3 separate regions of the Homo sapiens genome follow, and regions 1 and 2 are each linked to region 3. Evidence: promoter capture Hi-C in 16 types of primary human blood cells and fetal thymus (Javierre and others, 2016). All regions are on one chromosome and are shown on one strand. The core of a region is centred on a gene start or on the middle of the fragment in contact, and the rest is flanking DNA. Distances in the headings are between cores, read along the strand shown.

The links. Contacts are between HindIII fragments. The CHiCAGO score rates a contact against its expected background, and 5 or more counts as called.
Region 1: a fragment that was not itself captured here is called in contact with the fragment with the promoter of SPRYD4 in region 3 in 3 of 17 cell types (total B cells, non-activated CD4 T cells and M1 macrophages); the score reaches 6.7 in total B cells.
Region 2: a contact is called between a fragment that was not itself captured here and the fragment with the promoter of SPRYD4 in region 3, in 1 of 17 cell types (M1 macrophages). The highest score is 5.1, in M1 macrophages.

What each region holds. Positions count from the first base shown.
Region 1 is chr12:56,307,121-56,310,262 of GRCh38, reverse strand. It overlaps CNPY2 (canopy FGF signaling regulator 2), which reads left to right. Exons shown (of 6, transcript NM_014255.7): 6 at 1-419. Among named protein-coding and RNA genes, the nearest start is that of CNPY2-AS1, 2.7 kb to the left of the region's middle. The HindIII fragment of the contact is 170 bases long and covers 1,528-1,697 here.
Region 2 is chr12:56,610,233-56,613,399 of GRCh38, reverse strand. BAZ2A (bromodomain adjacent to zinc finger domain 2A) reads left to right here. Exons shown (of 29, transcript NM_001300905.2): 5 at 167-385; 6 at 1,154-1,627; 7 at 1,767-1,827; 8 at 2,883-2,991. Among named protein-coding and RNA genes, the nearest start is that of BAZ2A, 19 kb to the left of the region's middle. The HindIII fragment of the contact is 1,811 bases long and covers 925-2,735 here.
Region 3 is chr12:56,466,943-56,470,264 of GRCh38, reverse strand. SPRYD4 (SPRY domain containing 4) reads right to left here and starts at 1,687. Exons shown (of 2, transcript NM_207344.4): 1 at 1,589-1,687; 2 at 1-1,226. The coding sequence starts at 1,673. The coding sequence ends at 688. RefSeq lists enhancers at 840-969, 1,390-1,439, 1,760-1,939, 1,950-2,019. The HindIII fragment of the contact is 12,495 bases long and covers 1-3,322 here.

The DNA of each region.
Region 1 (3,142 bases), core at 363-2,862, 160 kb after region 3:
TCCACTCATAAACTAGATAAGCTTTCAGTCAGTGCCCACTCAATACCACGTCTTTAGAGTCTAATTGTGGAGAATAGAGGAACCTCCATGAGGAAGCAGGGGAACATAGTGTATGGTAGTGTAGAATTCTAGAAATCCCTTGTGTTCATGGCTGTTGAAACATAAAGTAAGACAGGGCTTGGTCTTGAAGGAAATAACGGATATGCATTATTCTTCCTTCCCTGCCCATCCAGATGGAGGGACCAGCAAGAACAGAGACAGGAAGGGGAAAATGGATGTGACCAACTCAGCTGAAAAGTAAGGGCTTTATCGGATAGGGACAGACGAGGTAAGGAAGGTTGTTTAATGAGAGGCCTTGCTTGCCAGCCTAAGCTTTTAAATTTGATGCCAGTGGCAACAATAAAGTGTATCTATCACTAGCCATTGTCAATCTGGACTATAAGTCTGTCCACAATTCTGTGTGTAGAGATTCCAGACTGGGGCATAGGGATGAAAACCTAAAGGATACCTTCTTTTGGGAAATTCTTTTTTTCTTTTTTTTTCTGAGATGGAGTCCCGCTCTGTCGCCTAGGCTGGAGTACAGTGGCGCGATCTCGGCTCACTACAAGCTCTGCCTCCCAGGTTCACGCCATTATCCTGACTCAGCCTCCCGAGTAGCTGGGACTACAGGCGCCCGCCACCACACCGGCTAATTTTTTTTTTTTTTTTTTTGTGAGACAGAGTCTCGCTCTATCGCCCAGGCTGGAGTACAGTGGCGCGATCTCGGCTTACTGCAAGCTTCGCCTCCCGGGTTCACACCATTCTCCTGCCTCAGCCTCCCAAGTAGCTGGGACTATAGGCACCCGCCACCACGCCCGGCTAATTTTTTGTATTTTTAGTAGAGACGGGGTTTCACCATGTTAGCCAGGATGGTCTCGATCTCCTGACTTCGTGATCCGCCCGCCTTGGCCTCCCAAACTGCTGGGATTACAGGCGTGAGCCACCGCGCCCGGCCTGCACTGGCTAATTTTTTTGTATTTTTAGTAGAGGCAGGGTTTCACCGTGTTAGCCAGGATGGTCTCGATCTCCTGACCTCATGATCCGCCCGCCTTGGCCTCCCCAAATGCTGGGATTACTGGTGTGAGCCACCGCACCTGGCAGAAAATTCTTAAGCACTCTGAGCTTGAGGTATGGTTGTCTCAGGGTTTCAAATGGAATATCTCCGGTCCCAAGAACACCTCAAGGAGAGAAGACCTGAATAAACATTTCAAAGGTTTTAAAAATTACATCATTTTAGAATCTAAAGGAACCTTAGAGGTCGTCTGGTTCACCTCTGCCCATTTTATTGATGAAGAAGCTGAGGCCCAGAGAAGCCATAGAACTTTATGAAGTTCTGTATTTAATGGCAAAACTGGGTCTATAAGCTAACTTTCCCAAGTGCTGACCTGATCTAATATAGCTATAGAGTACCTTCTATTTTAAGTCTTTTTTCTCTAATAATACCTTGCACTAAGCCTGGCGCATAGAATGCATATATTCCACAAAGCTTTCTTGTACCAAAAATCCCTGTGAAATCTGACAAATTAACTAGAGCACAGAGCAAGCACTCTGATATTTGTTGTCAACTAATATCAGCCTGGTGTTAATTCCATCTTCTCCCATCATCCATAAGAAATGCTGTGTTCGCTCTAGTTTTCCAAACCAACTATTATAAAGCTTATTTTTTCTTCTATGATGCATATAAGTAATAATTACATTTTTTCATGTCCCTGAAAGTATACCCAAGGTGCTGTCCATTTCGTGCTTCGTGCCTAAAAATGCCTTTCTTTTCCATCAGAAAGCTTATCAGAAGTATAAATGAGAGTACTCTTCAAGCCAAATGCGGTGGCTCGTGCCCATAATCCCAACACTTTGGGAGGCCAAGGTGGAAGGATCATGATCACTCGAGTCCAGGAGTTTGAGACCAGCCTAGGCAATATAGTGAGACCCCATTGCTACAAAAAATACAAAAATTAGCCGGCATAATGGTGTGCACCTGTGGTTCCAGCGACTCTGGAGGCCAAGGTGGCAAGATCTCTCGAACCCAGGAGGCTGAGGCTGCACTGAGCTGTGATTGCACTACTGCACTCTAGCCTAGGCAACAGAGTGAGACCCTGTCTCAAATACAATAAAGAGAGTTCTCTTCTGGAAACTTAAAACTGTTTTAATTTAGAAAACAAATTATTCATAGTTTTAAATAAATAAATTTAATGTTAATCAGTAACAAGTTACTTGTGATGCACCTTTCTGGTTTGTCAAAGTACAGCTGTTAAGAACTCTCCAGCTGGAGAGACTTTGTCATTGGTACACAAAGGATATGTCCTATATAGGAAAGGGTGGATGTTACCTTCTAGGCTTGATTAAGGATACACTTTGTGGGGTTTTTTTGTTTTTTGTTTTTTTTTTCCTGAGGGAGAGTCTCGCTCTGTCGCCCAGGCTGAAGTGCAGTGGTGCAATCTCGGCTTACTGCAACCTCCACCTCCTGGTTCAAGTGATTTTCCTGACTCAGCCTCCCAAGTAGCTGGGATTACAAGCATGTGCCATCATGCCCAGCTAATTTTTGAGTTTTTTGTAGAGACAGTGTTTCACCATGTTGGCCAGGCTGGTCTCAAACTCCTGGCTTCAAGTAACCCGCCTGCCTCAGCCTCCCAAAGTGTTGGGATTACAGGCGTGAGCCACCGTGCCCAGCAGGAAGATACACTTTGTAAACCTCTTATTTTTTTTATTATTATCATTATTATTATTACTATCTTAGCGAGACAGGGGTCTTGCTCTGTTGCCCAGGCTGGAGTGAAATGGCATGATCATAACTCATTGCAGCCTCTAACTCCTGGCTTCAAGCAATCCTCCTGCCTTGGCCTCCTGAGTTTCTAGGATTACAGGCAAGCACCACCATGCCTGGCTTTGCACATGTTTTAATTCATATCACAAGGAATGCATGAATTTATCTGAACCCTCTGGAGGTTCATTATAATAAATTATAGCCCAGTATTTGGTAGAGCATATGCTCTTAACCTTGTAAATCTGATCAAGCTTCAGATGCCTTCTAACTTAGTTTATCAGTAAAATGTTAGAACTTAACAAACATTTCCGAAGACAGTGTTAAATGAGGTACAGATATAAC
Region 2 (3,167 bases), core at 581-3,080, 140 kb before region 3:
CTACTCTTTCAGGGAGAAGGCTTTACTTGTTACCTAACTTAATATTAGGAAGAATCTTCACATTGTGGGAACTAGAATTGGATGTTTTCTGACCAGTGTTTCTTAAATCTTGCTTTCTGATTTTTTTCTCATTATCCTGCTCTGATTTTTCTACCCTTGTAAACAGAGCCAGTGAGTGGAGGACTATATGGTATTGATGACACGGAGCTGATGGGTGCAGAGGACAAGCTGCCTCTTGAGGACAGCCCTGTGATTTCTGCCCTTGATTGCCCTTCCCTCAATAATGCTACTGCCTTCAGTCTCCTGGCAGATGATAGTCAAACATCAACCTCTATCTTTGCCAGTCCCACCTCTCCACCTGTCCTAGGGGAGTCTGTCCTGCAAGGTAAGTGACGGTAGGTAGGACAAAGAAAGACCTTTACCTGAGAAAAGATGAGAGAATAAGTTTCATAGTTAGGGCCTTAAGAGTGGGAAATCTGGCTGGGCGCAGTGGCTCACGCCTGTAATCTCAGCACTTCGGGAGGCCGAGGCGGGTGGATCACCTGAGATCAGGAGTTTGAGACCACCTGGCCAACATGGTGAAACCCCGCCTCTACTAAAAATACAAAAATTAGCCAGGTGTGTTGGCACATGCCTGTAATCCCAGCTACCTGGGAGGCTGAGGCAGGAGAATCGCTTGGCCCCAGGAGGCAGAGGTTGCAGTGAGCCGAGATTGTGTCGTTGCACTCCAACCTGGGCAACAGAGCAAGACTCCATCTCAAAAAAAAAGTAGGAAAGCAAGAGCACCTTGCTGGGAGCTGAGGGGCTATGGGATAGTGTATGGTGGAACTAAAAGAGGTATAGGCTGCTATACTCCGACCTGTGCCCTCTGCTTTGAAGAACTTGTGAGACTTGGAATTTGTAGGGAGAAGGAGGCTAGAAGCTTTATTGGCACCAGGTAAAAGGTATTTCTTCACACAATGACATCTGTAGCAACTTTACCCTTTAATCCTCATGATTGGTTGGGAGAAAAAGCTACTTCTTTTTCCAACCCTAGGGAAGACCCCTTGAAGTAACCCTGTTTAGCTTGGTCCAGGGTTGACTGAGTAGATTCTCTTGTTTTATGTGATGCCTTTTTTTTTTTTAAAGCCTATCCTGTCCCTTTGGATTCTAGATAACAGCTTTGACCTGAATAATGGTAGTGACGCTGAACAGGAAGAAATGGAAACTCAATCTTCAGACTTCCCACCATCCCTGACCCAGCCAGCTCCTGATCAGTCATCCACTATTCAGCTACATCCAGCAACCTCACCAGCAGTCTCGCCAACAACCTCCCCAGCAGTCTCCCTAGTGGTTTCTCCAGCAGCCTCCCCAGAAATCTCTCCAGAAGTTTGTCCCGCAGCTTCTACAGTTGTCTCTCCAGCAGTCTTCTCAGTGGTCTCTCCAGCTTCCTCAGCAGTCCTCCCAGCAGTCTCCTTAGAAGTCCCGTTGACGGCTTCAGTGACATCCCCAAAAGCCTCTCCCGTAACTTCCCCAGCAGCTGCCTTTCCAACAGCCTCCCCAGCAAATAAGGATGTCAGCAGCTTTCTAGAAACCACTGCTGACGTGGAAGAGATCACTGGAGAAGGACTCACTGCTTCTGGTAGTGGTGAGTATCCAGATTCTATTCTATCCCTGTCTGGTTCCAAGAAACTTTTCTGTCCCATGTTGTAGTTAGCCTTTCCCTATTGGCCTATTGTTTAAATATTTTGCTTGAACTCTTAACTTGGGTATCCCTTCCTCCCAAGGTGATGTCATGAGGAGACGTATTGCTACCCCAGAAGAAGTTCGTCTTCCCCTCCAACATGGGTAAATGCTCTAGTTTGCTACATTTATTGACCTTGACAAGTTTAATGCACAACTCTAGAAAGAAGGGAATGCCTCTTTTCCTCTGAGGTGGGGGAGGAATGGGCCAGACAAGAGTAGATTACAGGACAGTTATCTGCAGTGATAATGTTTCTTGGCATGAGATTCCTAGGTTTTCCTTCTTCTCTCAAGGTCTGTCTTCCATCACCTATTCTTTTTTCATCTTGTAGTGACTCAATTTTGCCCAAGGAGCTCCAGCTATTATCTTTTCCAAACCCTAGGGCTCACATCCAAACCAGCTGGCTTGTCCTATTTCTGTGGACAAGGGATAGTAATGAATGAGGAGTGACTTAGTACTAATGAATTGAGGTGGTTTTGTTGTTTTAATGCTCTTAGGAGAGGTAAGGGCAGGAACAGTACATGACCAAAATGAACAAACTAGCTGACACCAGGGCCTTGTGGAAATAACTGCCTTCCTGGATCTTCCCCACCCCTGCCCCTCAAGGCTACTTGTGGTCACCAAGTCTGAGTACTGCTTAAAATTTTGAGAGAAAGATTAGAGTTAGTCTTAGAACTAACTCTGACTAACTTTGTGTTCTGCTCAGAACACAGAGTTCCTAACTAAACCCTGGCATATTGAGTCTTTTCATGGAATCAGCAGCAAATTTATTTTTCTGCTTGCCTCCCTGCCCTTTGTCTTCTGTCTTTATTCCCCTTAGGTCTTTATCCTCTTTACTGGAAATCCAGTAACTGCCCTGAATGGCTCAGGGAGGGGTTTCTGGCAGCTTATCTCACTGATTTTGTAAAGGAGGGATGGAGATCTCTCTGAGCTTGTGCAGTTTGGTGTAGTGCTTTTCTCCTAAGGGCCTTGATGTATTTGCTGGAGCTCAAGTCAGCCTTCTAGCCAAGCTTATCTCTCTTGGTGCTTTTGCATCTGCATGCAGTTCTAGAGATACAAATGTGGGGAGGGCCATCTGCTCAGAGGGCTTCGCGCTTAGGTGGCATGGGAGTGGGTAGGGGTGTGACCTGGCGGCAGGGCCCATGTGCTTCTCTGGCAGGTGGCGGAGAGAGGTGCGCATCAAGAAGGGCAGCCACCGATGGCAGGGGGAGACCTGGTATTATGGCCCCTGTGGGAAGAGGATGAAGCAATTTCCAGAAGTGATCAAGGTAATGTAGCTTTTTTTAAAGGACTGCTTTCTTGGGCTCAGTGGACTCCTTTCCACTGCCCAAGACTCCGTTCTTGGGCTCAGTGACAACAGGCTGGCATTGTCTGCTCTGGGCCTGTTCTGCTTATGCCTTTGCTGGCCAAAGACATGGTAGGATCCAACTTTATTAATGTTACT
Region 3 (3,322 bases), core at 438-2,937:
AACTGGGATAATGATTATGACAGACTGGCTGGGTGTCAGAGGTACAGATTTAAGGTAGATGGACTCAGGGTAAGGATAGCTACAGCTGTGTGGGGCTGAAGGTCTGTGGCACTGAGCTACTGGGGAAGGAGGGCTCTGTTTTCATTTTGACACACTGAGTTAATAAAGCACTTACTGAGGGAGCCAGAGCCCAAACTCTAAATGTGCTGTAGAAAAAGGGCCAAGTCATTGACTGCACCACTCCTTCAGCCAGAGGTAGAAAGGATTTACTCTTCAGCCATCTGGTAGAGCCCCAAGAACAAGTTACATGTGGACAAAGGGAGGGAGAGGTATCATGGTGATTAATAAATTCAAACAAAGCTGAATGATAAGACCCCAGGATGGAATACAGTCTGAGAAAGGCCTGGGCAAAGGGAGGCAGAGGGACTGAAGGAAGCAGGTCAAGGAAGATACACCCATGGTAGCCTAGGAAATTGGCAGTAGTTGGTGGGTGGGGAAAAGGAGGGTTTGGCTGTATGCCTAGCTTTCACAAGGTAGGGGATGAGGAAGATGATCATGATATTGCACAGAGGACCCAACACTGAATTGTGGGAGCTAGAGGTTGCTTGAGGCAAAGTAAAAAGGCTTCGGACACTTTCAAAAGGAGGCTGGCCAAAGGCGTGATTAGGGACTCCAGTAATGGACATACTAGAGGCCCTCGGGCACCTCAAGCCCTGAATGGGTCAGCAGCTCCCCATCCCAGAGAGCAAAGGCAGGCACCACTGGACCCCGGAAATCTGTCTGTAGCGTGTGAACCACAGAGACCTGGCTCACATCCACCAGGCTCAGCTTCTGGGCCTCATACTCCAGCAACAGCCCCACCTTCTCTGGCTGCCCAATACCCTCAACTGGGGCTTTCTCGTTGGCCAACATGGTGTACCACTTGCGCTGGGCATAGGTGAACACCCAGGAACGATCATCAACACCAATGCAGCTATCCCGGGACATGTCCACATCTGCCACTCCTATCCGGAACTGCTGGGAGCGCTTCACTGTCACTTCCCAGTAGTGTCTGCCACTGGTGACCGCTGTGTCTGCCAGCACCACTGCCCACTCCCGGAAGCGCTCCACATTCAAGGCCACCTTGGTGGGCTCCAATCCCACCAAGCCATATTTGACACCCGTATCATCTCTGAAGAGTGCCAGGCTGCTGTGGGCGGTTTTTTCTTCCAGTTTGAAACTGACGCCTGCGGGCAGAGCAAAAAGACGGGATAATAACAGGGGCTAGAACCCTAGGGCTGGTGATATATTCAGATATGAGGCAGGCAGCCATGATACACGAGCAACTAGGGAAGAGTCAGAATGCCAAGCGGGCAAGAGAGTCGCGAGGTCGCTTTACTACGGATAGCTCACGGAGCTGAAAAACTCGGATTGAGTAAGTCCCGGAATTTAAAGAAACCAAATGGTATCACAGGTTTGGAATCTTAAGACCAAGGCAGGTGGGGAAGGAAAAGACCCGAGAGGGTTGGAGTTGCTTCTCGGAGTGGGGTCTGGGAATAATAGACGGCAGCCATTCTGGAGGTAAAAGAGTAAAAAGAGATAATCCTACCTCTCTGGGCCTCTGTGGAGGCAACTCCCAATCGTTTGGCTCCCCAGCGGCACAAGCGCAAAGAACGTGCAAAAAGCAGCGCCATCTTGCGCCTTGGATGAACCGGGCACGCCTCCCGCTTACAGACACAGCCATCTGCCCGCCCGCTCCCCTAGCACGTGGTGCGCGAGGGGCGGCCGCGCAGTGTTATGACGTAGGCGACGCCCGGGGGCGGGCGGCCGCCAAGGTAGTGGTTTCTGTTCTGTTTCTGCCCGCGGTTAATGCTGCTTATTCAGTTTTTCTGCGTAGACGAACGCTGCTCACATTTGAACTACGTAAAACTTTTAGAGATATAGTGTAGCCAGATGCTTAGAAGTATAGATTTTAAAATTAGACAGTACTGTAATTAGCTTTGATCCCGGCTTCACTGTGTGAGTTTGGGCAACTCACTCCACTTTTCTGAGCCTTAGTGTTCTAATTTATAAAATAGAAATTATATACAGACCTTAGTAATAATTAAGTGAGAATAATCTAGGCCGGGCGCGGTGGCTCACGCCTGCAATCTCAGCACTTTGGGAGGCCGAGGCAGGCGGATCACGAGGTCAGGAGATCAAGACCATCCTGGCCAATATGGTGAAACCCCGCCTCTACCAAAAGTACAAAAATTAGCCGGGCGTGGTGGCGCGCGCCTGTAATCCCAGCTACCCGGGAGGCTGAGGCAGGAGAATCGCTTGAACCAGGGAGTGGGAGGTTGCAGTGAGCCGAGATTCTGCCACTGCACTCCAGCCTGGTGACAGAGCAAGACTCCATCTCAAAAAATAATAATAATTAATCTAGATATATATTGGCAAATAGCAACCATTGGGTAATTCACAGTTGTTTATAATTAATAGTAAATACATAAATACTGTTAATGTTGGTTTTGTATGTTCAAGGCTAGGAACGGATGGTTTAACTCAGCATTCAGTTTTCTGAACTTAACCAAGAGTAGCAATATTTTGGTTCAGGGTATGAGGTAGGAGATTATGGACAGCCTATATTGAACATTTCGATCTGCATTCCATTTTATTTTATTTTTTGAGACAGGGTCTCATTCTGTCACCCAGGCTGCATGCAGCACAGTGGCGCAAACACAGCTCACTGCAACCTTCATCTCCGAGGCACAAGCGATCTTCCTGCTTCAGCCTCCCATGTAGCTGGGACCACATGTGCACGCACCATGCCCCGTTAACTTTTTTGTAGAAACGGGGGTTTCGCTTTGTTGACCAAGTTGTTCTCGAATTCTCGGGCTCAAGCCATCCTCCCACCTTTGCCTCCCAAAGTGCTGTGATTACAGGTGTTAGCCACTATGCCAGGCCTACATTTTTTTAATCAGTCCACTTCTCAAGGTTCTGCTGGCCAGTGCAATAGCAACATACATCCCACCTCCATCCTCCTACCCCTCAAAAAAGGATTTTAGATATATATTTTTAAAATGTATATTCTGAGACGGAGTGTCACTCTATCACCCAGGCTGGAGTGCAGTGGTTTGATCTTGGCTAACTGCAGCCTCTGCCTCTGGAGTTCAAGCAATTTTCCTGTCTCAGCCTCCTGAGTAGCTGGAATTACAGATGCCCACCAACCACACCTGGCTAATTTTTTTTTGAGACTGAGTCTCACTCTGTTGCCCAGGCTGGAGTGCAGTGGCGCAACCTTGGCTCACTGTAACCTCCGCCTCCCGGGTTCAAGCAATTCTCTTGTCTCAGCCTCCTGAGT